Regions from separate parts of the Homo sapiens genome. Here region 1 is linked to region 2. Evidence: promoter capture Hi-C in 16 types of primary human blood cells and fetal thymus (Javierre and others, 2016). All regions are on one chromosome and are shown on one strand. Each heading gives the region's core, a stretch centred on a gene start or on the middle of the fragment in contact. The rest is flanking DNA. Distances are from core to core; before and after follow the strand shown. Region 1 holds the start of OR2D2 (olfactory receptor family 2 subfamily D member 2). Region 2 overlaps OVCH2 (ovochymase 2).

Region 1 (7,526 bases), core at 4,877-7,376, 800 kb after region 2:
AGAATCCTGACACTCACCTTATGTAGATATAGGCAGAATTTTCATGGAGTCAGTATTGTTCCTTTGGGTAGTGTTTTCTTGCCTTGTTGAACTTGATTTGGAAGAAAGTAAATAGGTATGGATGATAAGGAATAGAGGATTTTAAGTGTGAAGGATCTTGGAATCAGAAGAGAAATTTAGTAGTTTTCTCTTGGTGCCTTAGGGGTTTACTCAGTCTCTTCTTCCTAAAATTCACATCAGGTTAGATAATGCATGTTTCTGTGACCCTGTCTTCCTTTTCCATATCCAGTGACATATTTTATTTTTATAGAAATGAACTCACAAATGTATGTTAAATCTAGAAAAAAAGTAAAATGAAATGGCAGAAAGGTTGACAGTGAACATGATTTTCTTATAGGAGCTTCTTGACCCTGGGAGCAGATTCAATGTCACCTGGAGGAACATTTCGTCCTCTACATTTGCATGGGAGAATAACATTTTTAAAGAAAAATCAGGAGAGATTGGCGTGCTGCCTTCTAGTGCATAATCCCAGGGTCAGTGAGAACTCCTAGCATCTGACAAGTCATAAATCACACTCATCTCTTCCTTACATTCCCCTCTCTGTCTCTTGCTACTTTGGCTCAGGTCAAATCAGTTCAAGAAACATGTGTTGGACACTTATAATGTATGATGACTGCTCTTATTTTCTGTGAATAAAGATGATTCAGATGTGATCTCTACCCTTGACTATCTTACAGTCACAGAGAAAGACAAATAATTTTAATATAATTTGTTAAGAGCTGTGATGGAGGTAAGTACAAGATGCTGTAGGTATACTTGTGCATCTAAGATAGATTAGTTGTTTGTGAGTGTGTGTATTGGTGTGTGTATGTCCGTGTGTATTGGAGGTAGGAATAGGGAAAGTTTGTGGGATTGTTTCTGGAGTATATTTTTCCTAGACAGAATCTTAAAAAATTCGTCTGGCTATGGTTATGAGCCAGATGAAGAAGGGATAGAAATCATAGCAATATCCTGTAACTTCACTTTCATTAAATTAACCACTGATTGTAGTCATCACTTTAAATTTTGTGAAGAATGCTTAGTTTTATGCTCAATATCTTCTTTTGTCAAAACTGAGAAAGATTGTTTGTCTATCATTTAATTTTCCTTGAGATTTAGATACATTATTGATACAGTTGTAATCAAATTCTAAAAAAAAAAAAAAATTCTACTCTAAGAAGAGTGAAAATTGTGGCAGAAAGAGTACTGAGTCTAAAGATCCTGAGCTGAACCAAATCCCGGAGCCTCTAAGAACTAACCAGGTAGCACCTTCCACCAGATGGACGGCAATTCAAAATGTAGCAATGTTTAAATTACCTGTATTCTCGAAATTTATTTTTATATCAGCTGTTTTGATAATACACTATTTTTCTCTTTAGAAGCAATTCTCTATTAGTTTGATGTGATAGATTATATAGATTCCTTAAACCAATATTGGCTGTGAATCTATGATATTCCAAGGACCACTGTAGGCACTGGGGATGAAACAATTTGGCCCCTCCCCTCTGGAGTTCTTTAGTGTTAGGAACTGGGTTTTCAGTCTGTATCCCCAGTCTTTAGCATATGCTTGGTACACAGTATTTGCTCAAAAAATAAGATTGATTGAATATTCAAAGTATGATGGGTGCCCAAGGAAAGTAATGATACCTTGATTTAGTGGGCATGTCTTTGAGTAGAGGGACTATGCGGAGCAAAAAACAGTGGGGTGTAAAAATGCAGTGTGTTCTAGTTAGTTGGTATGGGATAAGGCTGGTAAGGTTGCCTGCAGATGGATACGGGAGGGTGGAATTTATCTATATTCAGTGTGGGGCCGTAAGTAATCATCAAGCAGAGATGTAATTATTCATAATTATGTTTTATTTATCAGTTATTGAATGAGTTGATTTCCCTTGAAATAAAGGTAGGCACTTCTATAACTGCTAGGCACTACAGTTTTTAGATATTGGCAGCATCTATCAAAAGTAAAGATATGCCTACCCTTATATATTCCATCTTGGATAAAGCTCGTACCTAGCAATTCGAATGTTTGTAGTTTACCTTAACAGATATATTGGTAACAGTGAAAAACAATATATGTATAGGAATGTTCATAACATAATTGTTTGTGGTAGCATAAATTGGCCCCAATATTAATGTTCATCAATAAGAGAATAGTTAACTAAGTTTTGGTTTAACTGTAGTTTAACTGTAGTTAAACTGTAGTGTGGAATATAATGAAATCAATAGCAAGACATAGGTATAGCTATATATATTGGTCAAGAAGTGTCTCCAAGATAATAGCGATTGTTGGGAAAATTAAGTCATTAAATCATATGTTAACTACAAAAGTGTGCATACTCATGTACATACACATATGCATTTGTGTTTGTGTGTTGTGTGTGTGTATTAATTTGAATTAATAGACATCTGGAAAGATGTATACCAACCTGTGATCTATGGTTACTAATGGAAAGGGTATTGGGCTTGAGGGTGTTTGGAAAGAGACTTACTATTACCATACATTTGGGCGATGCATGTTGGACACACCACACAACTTACCATTTAAAGTGTATAATTCAATGGCTTTTAGAATATTCACAAAGTTATGCAACCATCACCACAATCAATTTTAGAAGTTTTTCGTTACTCCAAAAAGAAACCATACATTCCTTAGTCATCATCATCCAGTCCTCCTATAACCCCAGCCCTAGGCAACAACCAATCTACTTTCTTTCTCTATAGATTTGCCTGTTCTTGACATTTAATATAAATGAAATCATGCAATATGTCATCCTTTGTGACTACTTTTTTCACTTAATATAATGTTTTTAAGGTTTATTCATGTTGTACCATGTTCAATCCTTTATATGGATATATCACCGTTTTGTTTGTTTGTTTGTTTGTTTGTTTGTTTTTGAGGTGGGGTCTCTCTCTCTCACATGGACTGAAGTGCAGTGGAGTGATCTCAGCTCACTGCAACCTCTGCCTACCCTGTTCAAATGATTCTTCTGCCTCAGCCTCCCAACTATTTGGGACTATAGGCATGTGCCATGATGCCCAGCTAATTTTTGTATTTTTAGTAGAGACGGGGTTTCACCACATTGGCCAGGCTGGCCTCGAACTCCTGACCTTAAGTGATACACCTGCCTTAGTCTCTCAATGTACTGGGATTACAGGCGTGAGCCACCACACCCAGCTGATATATCACCTTTTCTTTATATATTCAAAGACATTTCACTTTTTGTCTTTGGATCACTGCACTTTTTGAGTATTATGAATAATGTTGCCATAAACATTCATGTATAAGTTTTTGTGTGCAACATATGCTTTCAGTTCTCTTGGGTATATACCTACTGGTGGGATGGCTGATTCATATGGTAACCTGCTAGCCATCCTAGTAGGTGTAAAGTTGTATGCTATTGTGGTTTTGGTTTGCATTTCCTTTATGGCTAATGACATTCAACATATTTTCATGTGCCTACTGGCCATTTGCATACCTCTTCTGGAAACAATGTCTATTTAGATTCTTTGCCCAGTTATTAATTATATTATTGGCCTTTTTATTACCAGGTTATGTTTCTTATATATTCTAAATATAAGTCCCTTATCAGATACAGAATTTGCAAAAATTTTCTCCCACTCTGTGGGTTGTCTTTTCACTTCCTTAATGGTGTCTTTTGAAGCACAAACATTTTTAATTTTGATGATGTCCAATTTATTAATTTTTTTCTTTTGTTCTGAAAAATATATATTTGATGTATATTTAAAATACAATTAAGCAAACAAAATGTTAAAATTAAGTAACTTATCTTCAAAACTGAGGAGGAATATAGAGTTCCTTTTAAGGATTAGGTAAGAGGCTTTTATCCTTTCAAAGATTTTAGAGTTTGGTGGCACTGGTTTTTATTTTACCATTGAATCAACATCCACACCTCCATTTACCTGATATAATGGTAATATTGTGTAACCATTACATTTATATGATTTGATATGAGACTGTTTTTGTTTTGACAGATTTTCCTAGATGTGTAAAAGAGGAGAATAACATAAAGAATAATCTGTATTTTGAGTTAAAAAAGAACCTTTTAAGTAATTAATCTGTACATTGTAAAGTAAAACAGTAAGGTGAAATTGTTTTCAGGCTTCTTCCTCTGGTGGTTAAAATAAAAGTGGAGAAGAGAAAAGAAATTAGGTCAAACTTTTCCCAGATTGGTTGTTAGTGGTAACTTTGGCCCAGGACAGCTACATTCCTGTCTGGAGAAAAGATGTTGCAGGAGAAATCCCAGGAAGTGAGGAAAGGAGTGTAGAGTCCATGGCTTACCAGTAGTGGGCAAAGGTGGAAGGGTTATAAATTGGATTTTGTCATACAGGTGATGCATGTTGGACTGAGCTGTTTGCTTAAGGCCTTCTGCCTGCAAAGTGAGCAGGGAGCAATGCTAAAAATCTAAAGCACCAAACAGTTAAGTAGAAGTGCAAAGGGACCTTCCTCCCAATGCCAAATTCCAACTTTAGTCTGAAGACCAATTAGGAATTGAAATCTTTCATTTCTTTGACTCACAGACCAATCCAGATGCTGAGACTCTGTTACTAGATTATGTAGGGTGTAATTATGTCTTTTTTTTTTTTTTAAGAAATCTCCTGGGGATTCCTGTAACCCAAGTGAGTTCTGCAACTTGGAGTAAAATGTTACTTCTTTATTTTTATTTTCCCCTAACTGAAAGTTGATGTTTCCTTCCAATTTGAATGCAAGTAACCAACCCACACCAATATTAGAAGTATTTATGACTTTGTCAGCAGTAGTAATTATAAGAATTTTTATATTGTATTGCAGTTGTTGGAGAGATCTCCAAATATTTAAACTCATCATTATTTTGAAATGAAGATGGTTATTAGACCCACCACTACATTTCAAAATTTTAGTGTATTAATAAAGAAGCACATATATTGCTGTTTACAAATCTGTTTTCTAAAATTATTTCGATAACTGTATTTTGATATAACTGGTTTCCTTAGTAATCCTATACATTTTATTTGATGTATTTAAAACGTTATTCTGAGATACTTTCACCAGACAGTTAAAGGATTGATAGCCCAACCCGTGTATAGGATCTTAAACTTTACACTTTAAAGTAAATTTATTTCCCTTCTTTTTGGAACAGCTCCACAAAATTGGATTATTATTTCAAATCTCTCTAGGGATATTGGCAAAACTTCTAAATGACTCTGCTTAACTATGTGATCAAATTATTATTTGTTTAATGAATTATGGTCATTTATGAAATGAAGTTCTCTGCTATGACTCGTAAAGGACACAGAGGTGAAAAAGACATGGAAACTATTTTCAAAGGAACTTTTACTTTTGCGGGGGGAGTGGACAGATAATGCATATAATTTTTAGCAGAGAGAGCTGGGGAGTAGTGCTGTTTGGGCTGAGTATGAAACTAGTCACGCTGGTGGCTTAAAATGAAAATTCTGTTTTGATGGTGTGTCTGTTATGTTGGAAGTTCATTCACAGTTGAGACTGAACAGAACTCAAGCTGAGGCTTCAGATAGGATTCCCAAGGGTATCCTGAGTTAATCTTTGGTTTCCCAGCTCCTGTAAGACAGGTTAGTTTCTTAAATAAAACATACCAGTACTTTGGCTCTTTCTGATTTCTTATACCTTCGTGTCTGTCCTTTCACGGAAAATACAACAGAAAACTATATTATCATAAGCGGGGAAGAGGAGATGTGACAAGAGCACTTACGACTCAGGGGTTTTAGTTAAGAACAAACAGAAATTAAATGGCAGGACTTTATAGATGAACTCAGTCTGTATTTAATATTGTATTATTAAAAGTGTGGTATTCAGAGTGAGAAAAATAATTTTAAAAATCTATTCTTGCCAGATGACATCAACAATGAATGCAACATCTTTTAAAGTTTGTTTTACAACACTGAAAATGTTCCAATGAAAGAAACATGATCATCTTATGAAGGGGGTTCTTGAAATTTTCAGTAGAAATTGGGGCAGTTCCTAAGCCTGCACTTCTGAATTATATAATTTTATAGGTATGCCTGTCTATGGTTAGCACATAGTGACTTCTTACTGAAAAGGACAACAAACTATGAGACAGATAAATCAGACACAAGTGACAGAATTCCTCCTTCTGGGACTCTCTGATGGGCCACACACCGAGCAGCTGCTATTTATCGTATTATTGGGTGTCTACCTGGTCACTGTGCTTGGAAATCTGCTTCTAATCTCCCTTGTTCATGTTGACTCCCAACTTCACACACCCATGTATTTTTTTCTCTGCAACTTGTCTCTGGCTGACCTCTGTTTCTCTACCAACATAGTTCCTCAGGCACTAGTCCACCTGCTTTCCAGAAAGAAGGTCATTGCATTCACACTTTGCGCAGCTCGACTTCTCTTTTTCCTCATTTTTGGGTGTACCCAGTGCGCCCTTCTTGCAGTGATGTCCTATGATCGCTATGTTGCAATCTGCAATCCTCTGCGTTACCCTAACATCATGACCTGGAAAGTGTGTGTCCAGCTGGCAACAGGATCATGGACCAGTGGCATTCTGGTGTCTGTGGTAGACACCACCTTCATACTGAGGCTACCCTACCGAGGCAGTAACAGCATTGCTCATTTCTTTTGTGAGGCCCCTGCACTATTGATCTTAGCATCCACAGACACCCATGCATCAGAGATGGCCATTTTTCTTATGGGGGTTGTGATTCTCCTCATACCTGTTTTTCTGATTCTGGTATCCTATGGCCGTATCATAGTAACTGTGGTCAAGATGAAGTCAACTGTGGGGAGTCTCAAGGCATTTTCTACCTGTGGCTCCCACCTCATGGTGGTCATACTTTTTTATGGATCAGCAATTATCACTTACATGACACCCAAGTCTTCCAAACAGCAGGAAAAATCGGTGTCTGTTTTCTATGCAATAGTGACTCCCATGCTTAATCCCCTCATCTATAGCCTGAGAAACAAGGATGTGAAGGCAGCTCTGAGGAAAGTAGCCACAAGGAATTTCCCATGAAGGCTTGGAATCTCACACTGACAGTGAGCTCAGAGAACCTTTTGGCTTCCTACTTCAAAGACTTGCTGGGAAGACATGGAATCAACCCAGGTGGATTGGATTTTTAAAAATGTACATTGGCACACTTGGTTTCTCAAGTCACCTGCTTGGCCCCCTTCCAAGTTGTACTTTCCTTCTTTTTCCTCCTTTCCTTTTCCTTCCTTACTGTTCTAAAGCTTTTTAATAAACTTTCTCCTGCTTTGAAAACAAAAGTACATATACACCATGGAATACTATGCAGCCACAGAATAGAATGAAATCATGTCATTCGCAGAAACATAGATGCAGCTTGAAACCATTATCCTAAGTGAACTAGCACAAAAACAGAAAACCAAATACTTCATGTTGTCACTCATAAGTAGGAACTAAACATTGGGTACATATGAAGACAAAGGTGGGAACAATAGACATTGGGGACTACTAGATTATGGGAGG
Region 2 (7,385 bases), core at 1,041-3,540:
AGTGAGGGATGATGAGACACCAGCGTTCTCACTTAAGAGATGGAAAGAACTCTGAGATGTGGGAGGAGAACCAAATTGGTGTGTTTTTATGACAGCCTGGAGAATGCAGCCTTTAACTTAAAACACAAACAAAACCAAAGAAAAAGATGTGACCAATCATTTGGATACCACACTAAGTTAGAACTTAAAGAGATGAGAACTGAGGTGTCCAGTCCCCACCCCACACCTCCATAAAAAAGGGAGAATAATTAGATGGGAAATTGAACAATTGAGAGGAGTTGGGATTGGTGGTATCTGAAATATCACGTGAAGTCAGATGTTAATGGCAGAAACAAGATCACACAGGTTTTATGAATGAGTGGGAAAAGATGATACAGAGGCAGTTGGTATAGATTTCTTTCTAAAAGTTCATCAAACCTAAACAGATTTGGGGCAAAAATTTCAGCAGAATTAAGGAAAATTTGTTAGTGGTGGAGGATAAAATTTAGGTTGTGAGCATGTTTCCAGGTGGAGGAAGAAGAGGAAATTTAGTTGAAAATCTGAAAATGCCAGAGCCAGAAGTGATTGAAAAATATCTCTTCAATAAGTAAAGTTTGAGTGTCGTGCATCAGTGAAGCGATGCTCTCATACTCTGCCAGTGACAGCATCATTTTGCAGAACTCGTGTAAGATAGTAATTTGGAAACTGGTGTTAAAAGTCATAGGAATATGCTCACCATTTGACTTGGAGAGAAAAGGGCCCCTTCCCAGAAAGTATCCCAGTAAGGGTTTAATAAATGTTTGAATGAATCCTATTTCTGATACAGGTCCCCCTCCCCACGCCTACCTTTACCATTAGTAATTATTTGCCTCCAGTTTTGTTTTATCCACACAATCCTTTCTGTTTCTTGCTCAGAGTCTGGGTCCCATTGAATCCCCATCAACTGTGTGTTAAAATTAGAGTTCCTATTTCATCAGCCCTCTCTCCCACCACTCTTCACTTCAAATTCAATTGGCTAGTGCTCACCAAACTGCTCCAAGATCACTCTTTATTGTTTCTTTGTTTCTCCTTCACACTGTTCCTTCTATCTAGATAGTTCCCCTCCCTTTTCCTGAAACAAAACAAGTGCCCCATGCAGGGAATGATACAAGAGAAGAAAAAAAGTAAATGCCTAAAGATATTCACTGCCAAGTTTTTAAGATAGCAAAAAATACAGGTCTCAAGGATAGAGATAAATGAAATATTATGCTGCCAATAAGCATCACAATTATAGAAACTATGAGAAAAGGTTTGTCATGATTTATTCTTGGTGACCCTAGGTTGATTCCAGGTGATCAACTTTCTTTTCTAGGTCATTACTCATCATAGCTTAATAATCTACTCAAGAATTTTGCTGAGGTTTACATTTAAGCTTAGTATCCAAAATCAGCTCTCTCTAACTCATACAAGGATTTCCTTTTTCATGCACATTCATGAGGCTCACTACATTTGACTCCGAGCCCACTTATGCAAATGCTTTCAGTAGCTCAGATGATACTTTGTTTTATATCAGCAATTAGACTCACTTACATCTGTGCCTTCTCAGAATTTTGCAGTGAGGCATGGAAATATAGTGGCAACAGGACAAAGCAGGTGAGAAGAGGAGCCAGCTATATCCCGCTGGGTAGAAAGACACGGTCTCCAAGGGGCACAACAAATTTCAGTCTTGATTCAGGAGAACTAGAGGTTCAAGATGAAACATCAGGAACCAGGTGAACAACACTAAGATGTCCAGAGAAGCAGTTTTGTGTATATGCAATTAGTTGAGTTGAGTGCCTAGTTGCTTCCAAGGAAAAAAATCCCCATGCGGTAGCTCTCCTAATCTCTTAGAGATGTTAGGAAGCTAAAATATTTGCACAGTTTCCTGCCCTTTGATTCAGGCCATATTTGGTAGCTATTTCAAAAAGTTAGAGCCTGTGATATAGAATCCTTCCCTTGGTAATCTGACCCACTCCTGAATACCCCATTAACTTTCTTATCTAAGGTCTTACTCCAGAACAAGTTGAGCAATCCAAATTTCTCTGCTGAATCAAAGTCAGGTAATTCATTCAGATTGTTTACTCTGGATGTAACTTCGTGTCTTCTCAGCTTTCATTTCAGAGTCTGGAAATAGAAGAAAGTGGAGACTGCACTTCCGACTATGTGACAGTGCACAGCGATGTAGAAAGGAAGAAGGAAATAGGTTTGTGTCCTCTGAGCCTCAGCTCGCTCTGGTTTGTGTTTGGACCCAGTCTTGAGATGGGAACGAAAAGGAGACAGATCAATCTTCCTCCATCTTCCTGCACCACCTCCACCCCTCCCTGTGGTCTCACCATCACTCCTTTGTCTTCTTCATTAGGGGCAGGAAGAGAAAAAGGGAGAATCAAAGAACCACTGAAACAGAAATGCAAAAGGCCCATGAGGAAACTAGGAGTCAGAAAGGGAAAGTTCCATTGAAACAAGTCCTGAGGCTAGAACCAGTTCCCTTAACATCATTGTGTGTGGGAGTGTTCAGGAGAGAAAACCAAATTGAAATGTCATGGGGTTAATTAAGGAGTGAGCTGCCTTTATTTAGAAAATGAATTGTGAAAAGCGTATTTCTCAACAATTACCTGAAGGATGATTTTCTTTTTTTCTTCTCTCCAATGCCATGGCTATCTGCTGGGTGCTTGACAATGTCATGCCTGGGCTGGCCTTCAACAAGCTCGGCTGTGTGGCTATGATGTCCCCACCCCTGTGCTGAGCCCCTCCAGCATCATGCTCATCAGCTTCCAATCAGATGAAAACGGGACCTGCAGGGGCTTTCAGGCTACAGTCTCCTTCATTCCTAAAGCAGGTAAGAAGATAGAGTTACCAACTCTTTGGTTCCCAGTTCTAATCCTTGTGATGTGAATTAGAGGTCTTTAGAGCCCAACACAGAGACAGTCGATTCTCACTATCTGCAGTAATTACATCCTATCAAGTCACCATGGACACTGAATAAGAGAATACTCAGCCATCCCTCCTAGGAAATGTACAAGGTTAGGTGCCTTCAAGGTACATTTTCATCAGCTGATCAGTACATAAACTTGTTTTATGTGTGTTTCTGTTTAAAGATATGTTATTTAATATATATTGCTGGTTCATTACAATGAATTCACGGCCATTAAATTCATGGCCAACAGCACTATGACTCATGTCTGAACAAAGCTTATCTAACACGTGTGTTTTCTATGTGAGGCACACCACAGAGTTTTGCACTTAGGAACACTAGACGGCACTTCAGCACTATGCTTGGGGCCATTTTAAAGGTTGAGGTCACCAATAAAAAGAACAGAAATGAAAAAAAAGTGCCACTAAATAGACCATGAAAAGGACATTTGTTTATAGGATGACGGCTGAAGCAAGAAGGCAAAATATTGCCTTGTTTTACCTCGTGTGGAAACGTGTGTCTAACAACATGTATTTTTTGTCACTCTTCACATGCCTATGAATGATCCTGAGGACAACATGAGTATCACTTTTGGAGCTATAAATAATTTTTAGTGAGTAGGTGAATTCACGTATAGGGAGTTCACAAAGAACGAGTGACTGTATGTCTGAATCCTGATGGCCAATCATTACTAGATGTGTAATCTTAAGAGTCACCTCAGACTCATTTTTTTCAACCCTACTAAGGGAAAACAATGCATCCCTAATAAGAATGTAGTGAGGATTAAATCAGATAAGATACACTTGGCCACAAGCAAGTGTGCAGTACATAACAGAGACATAGAAACATGAAATATCTTCACCAGTTCCAGGCCCTGGACATTCGAACTACCTAACCAGCTTCCTTACACATTCTCATACCCATGATTCTTCTTTCCAAACCCCACAAAGCCAATTATCTGCTTTCCAAGTTGTTCATTCTTTTTAGGTATTAAGCAGCTGCAGATGGCAAAGCCAGGTTATAGTTAAAATGCCCCACTCCTCATTTGAAATACCTATAGAGTCTAGCTGGCTGAGGTGCCCCAGAATTCTAACAATAGCTTCATAAATCATTTTCTGATAAATCTCCAACCCTGGCTGTCTTTGTGGAAACTGAGTAATTGTATCATACTTATACCCAGTATACCCAGATTTAAACATCTCCATATCAGAGGATGAATCAATGTTTCTGGAGACATGAGATGTGCCAAATGGAGAAACCAATGTTTCTGGTAAGCTGTTTTGGGGACCAATTGATACACACAGAGTATAATCCAGGGTTCAACCGGAGAAGCAGGTGATATGGATTTAATTCCATCTTCCTCCAAAATATACTAGAGTCCTAACCTCCAGTACCCCAGAATGTGACCTTATTTAGAGATAGGGTTGTTACAGAGTTAATCAGTTAAAATGAGGTTATTAGCCTGGGCCCTAATCCAGTATGACTAGTGTCCTTATTAAAAGGAGAAAATTGGAAGCAGAGAGACATACACACACAGGGAGAATATCGTGTAATGATGAAGGCAGAGGTTGGGGCAATACATTATCTACAGGCCAAGGGGCACCAGTGACTGTCAGTAAACCACCAGAAGCTAGAGGAGAGGCTTGGGGCAGACTCCTCGTCACAGCCCTCAGACAGAGCCATCCCTGCTGACACGTTGATCTTGGACTTCTAGCCTCCAGAACTATGAGACAATAAATTTCTGTTGTTCTAAGCCACCTAGTTTGTGGTACTTTGTCATGGCAACCCTAGCAAACGGATACACCAGAATTGGCTTACACAATTGTGGGGGCTGACTAAGCAGGTAAATCTACAGGCCAGGTGCTCAGAAAGGGAAAATCATAGAAACACCGGAATCCACAGCATGGGCTGAAGTTGTTCCTCACAGGCAGAATTTCTTCTCTCTTTTGGGGAAGCCTCAGCCCTGCTTTTAAGGGCCTTCAAACTAATCAAGTCAGGTTCACCCAGATTATTCAAGATGATCTTCTTTACCTAGAGTCAAATGATTAGGAATTTTAATTACTGCTGCAAAATTTCTTTACAGCAACAATTAGATTAGTGTCTGATTTAATAACTGTGGATTGTCACCTAGCTAAGCTGACATATCAAAAAAGCCATCACATGGAGCTTCATGGGATGTGGTCACTGTTCCTTTTGCTCAAAGCAACACTGGAATATTTCCAGTCACCAGAATAAATTCTCATCTCGAGTGAATAATTCAGTGGCAATGACTACTTTCTGTGCCAAATTGTGGTCTCATTCACAAGATCCCACCTCTGAAAAATAGCAAGTATACTACTATGTTCTAGTGCCAATGAGCATTGAGAAGTTCTGGGCTTTCCCTGTTCCTTGTTTGTCCATGACATCCATTGGCATATATAAGTGACATCTTGTTCCATGTGGAAAATACAGTGGTGAGGAGAGCAGGCAGAAGATGAGGTGGGGAAACTTTTATAGTTTGCCATTTTGCCATTTTGATTTATCAGGAGAAAAGTCAAATCCTTTATTTTTTATTTTTATTTTTATAAATTTTCGGACACATAGGACACAGAATAATAGAGAGAGTCGGGAATGAAAATTCATTTTCATAAGAAGGGATGAAAGCAGTTGGGGTCTCTTTGTTCTGGCTTCTTTGACAATGACCTCATGATGCAAAGAAGCCCCGGGTGGAAAAATTTTTGTAAAGTGTGGCTGCAGTGATTCCTTCTCTCGGCCACCAGGGGGTACATTCAGCAAAGCCATTGCCAAGCACAATATTTCCAAAGACCAAAAAAGAGAATATCATAGCAGTAGCACATTTGAGGAGGGTGTGAGAGGTTGAAGATGAATTTAATGTGTGCCTGTCAATTTACCTGTGGGATATCCAGCTGCAGATGTCCAGGAATTAAGAATCAAGCCTGGGATGGGGTGGTCTGGGAGGTAGCAGATAAAGGTGAGAGTTGCAACCCAAAAGAAGCCTATTTTTAGAGGAAAAAGAGAAAAGGGAAGACCAAAGAAAAAGGCTGAAAGGAGCCAGGCATAAGGGGAGGAGGAGAACCAGGACAGACATGGGAGCTGTGGAGAGAGAGATTAGGTTTTGCTGTGGACTGAATGTTTGCGCTCCCACCAAATTCATGTGTTGAAGCTTAATCTCCATTGTGATGATATTTGGAGTGGGTCCTTGGGGAGATAATTAGGTTCTGAGGGTGGAGCCCTCATCGATGGGATTAGTACCTTTATAAGAAGAGACGCACAAGAGCTTGCTTCCTCTCTTTCTACTCTCCCCTTTGTGAGGATAAAACAAGAAGACAGACATCTGCAAACCAGGAAGGGGGCCCTCACCAGACACTGGATCTGCCAATACCCTGATCTTGGACTTGGCAGTCTCCAGAACTTTGTGAAATAAATTTCTTGTTTAAATCACCCAGTCAATGGTATATTTGTTATATCAGCCCAAGCAAAGACAGGGGAAAGAGGTGTCAATGATGAAAAATGCTGGACAGAATCTAGTAACATAACAATGGGAAAAGAGGCCTTTGGATTTGGCCACTGGGATGTTGTAGGTAACCTCAGTGAGTCAGAATTCCACAGTCTGATTGCTAAAGATAGAGAGTGAATGGGAGGTGAGAAAGAGGCTCCCTGGAGGTAGATTTCACTTTCATAAAGAAAGGTCCCCAAGTGTTGTTCTGAGCCTCTGGCCTCTGTTGCCTGAAGCTCTCAGGCTTCAGGAGTCATAGAGTCATAGAAGCAGTTCCGATACACTAGCATAATCCCAGTAAGAATTTATTTCTCAGCCTTAGCCTTCAATTTTCTCAAAATTATGTCTTAGGCTTTATTATTATTATTATTATTATTATTATTATTATTTCCACAGCCATCACTTCTTATAAATAATGTTTTGGGTAACATCATATTTTTTTGACAATTTGCGCAGAAATATCACATACCTTTTAAGCTACATGGTGGAATCACCTTTCTTTTCATCTGTATGAATAACATGCCCTGAAATATATCCCCTGAAAATATATTCTTTTTTTTTGCGGGGTTGGGGTCCGGGGGTGGATCTTTATGAACTTAACAACAGAGATTCCTTGCCTTTAAGGTAGAAAGAAGTCCAAAAAACTATAGCAGCTTAGAATCCCCACCTTTGCATCAGAAGCATGCCAGGAGTATGGTATGTTTCTCTCCAGGAATTCTAAGGAGTGCAGCAGATGCGGGCAACGATTCCTGCTGGGTGAGCTCTCCAGCTGCCATCTTTCTGCTCTCCACAGGACACTTGGGGGCTGGGAGTGTCACTTTGTGGTTTGATGAAACAGCCTCTGGGTGAAGCTGCTGTGACAACTTATTTAAAATCTTCAGGATGCTCAGGGATACACTATAGACAATTTTAAGAACTTTCTTTTCAGAATTGAATGGTCTGTTCTAAAAAAAGCTTTCTGTGAATTTTCAGAAATGTTCT

Evidence for each region. The method cuts DNA at HindIII sites, captures the fragments that hold promoters and counts their contacts. A CHiCAGO score of 5 or more calls a contact.
Region 1: the fragment with the promoter of OR2D2 here is called in contact with a fragment that was not itself captured in region 2 in 3 of 17 cell types (M2 macrophages, M1 macrophages and M0 macrophages); the score reaches 8.1 in M2 macrophages.

The regions. Positions count from the first base shown.
Region 1 is chr11:6,891,100-6,898,625 of GRCh38, reverse strand. It overlaps OR2D2 (olfactory receptor family 2 subfamily D member 2), which reads left to right and starts at 6,126. Exons shown (of 1, transcript NM_003700.1): 1 at 6,126-7,052. The coding sequence starts at 6,126. The coding sequence ends at 7,052. It overlaps LOC107984019 (a long non-coding RNA gene), which reads left to right. Exons shown (of 4, transcript XR_001748112.3): 4 at 398-713. The HindIII fragment of the contact is 9,743 bases long and covers 1-7,269 here.
Region 2 is chr11:7,686,717-7,694,101 of GRCh38, reverse strand. It overlaps OVCH2 (ovochymase 2), which reads left to right. Exons shown (of 16, transcript NM_198185.7): 13 at 2,107-2,200; 14 at 2,702-2,833; 15 at 4,089-4,178; 16 at 4,500-4,665. The coding sequence ends at 4,147. LOC105376533 (a long non-coding RNA gene) reads right to left here. Exons shown (of 11, transcript XR_007062576.1): 3 at 2,610-2,824; 4 at 1,549-2,121. Among named protein-coding and RNA genes, the nearest start is that of OVCH2, 16 kb to the left of the region's middle. RefSeq lists an enhancer at 1,889-3,088. The HindIII fragment of the contact is 1,796 bases long and covers 1,393-3,188 here.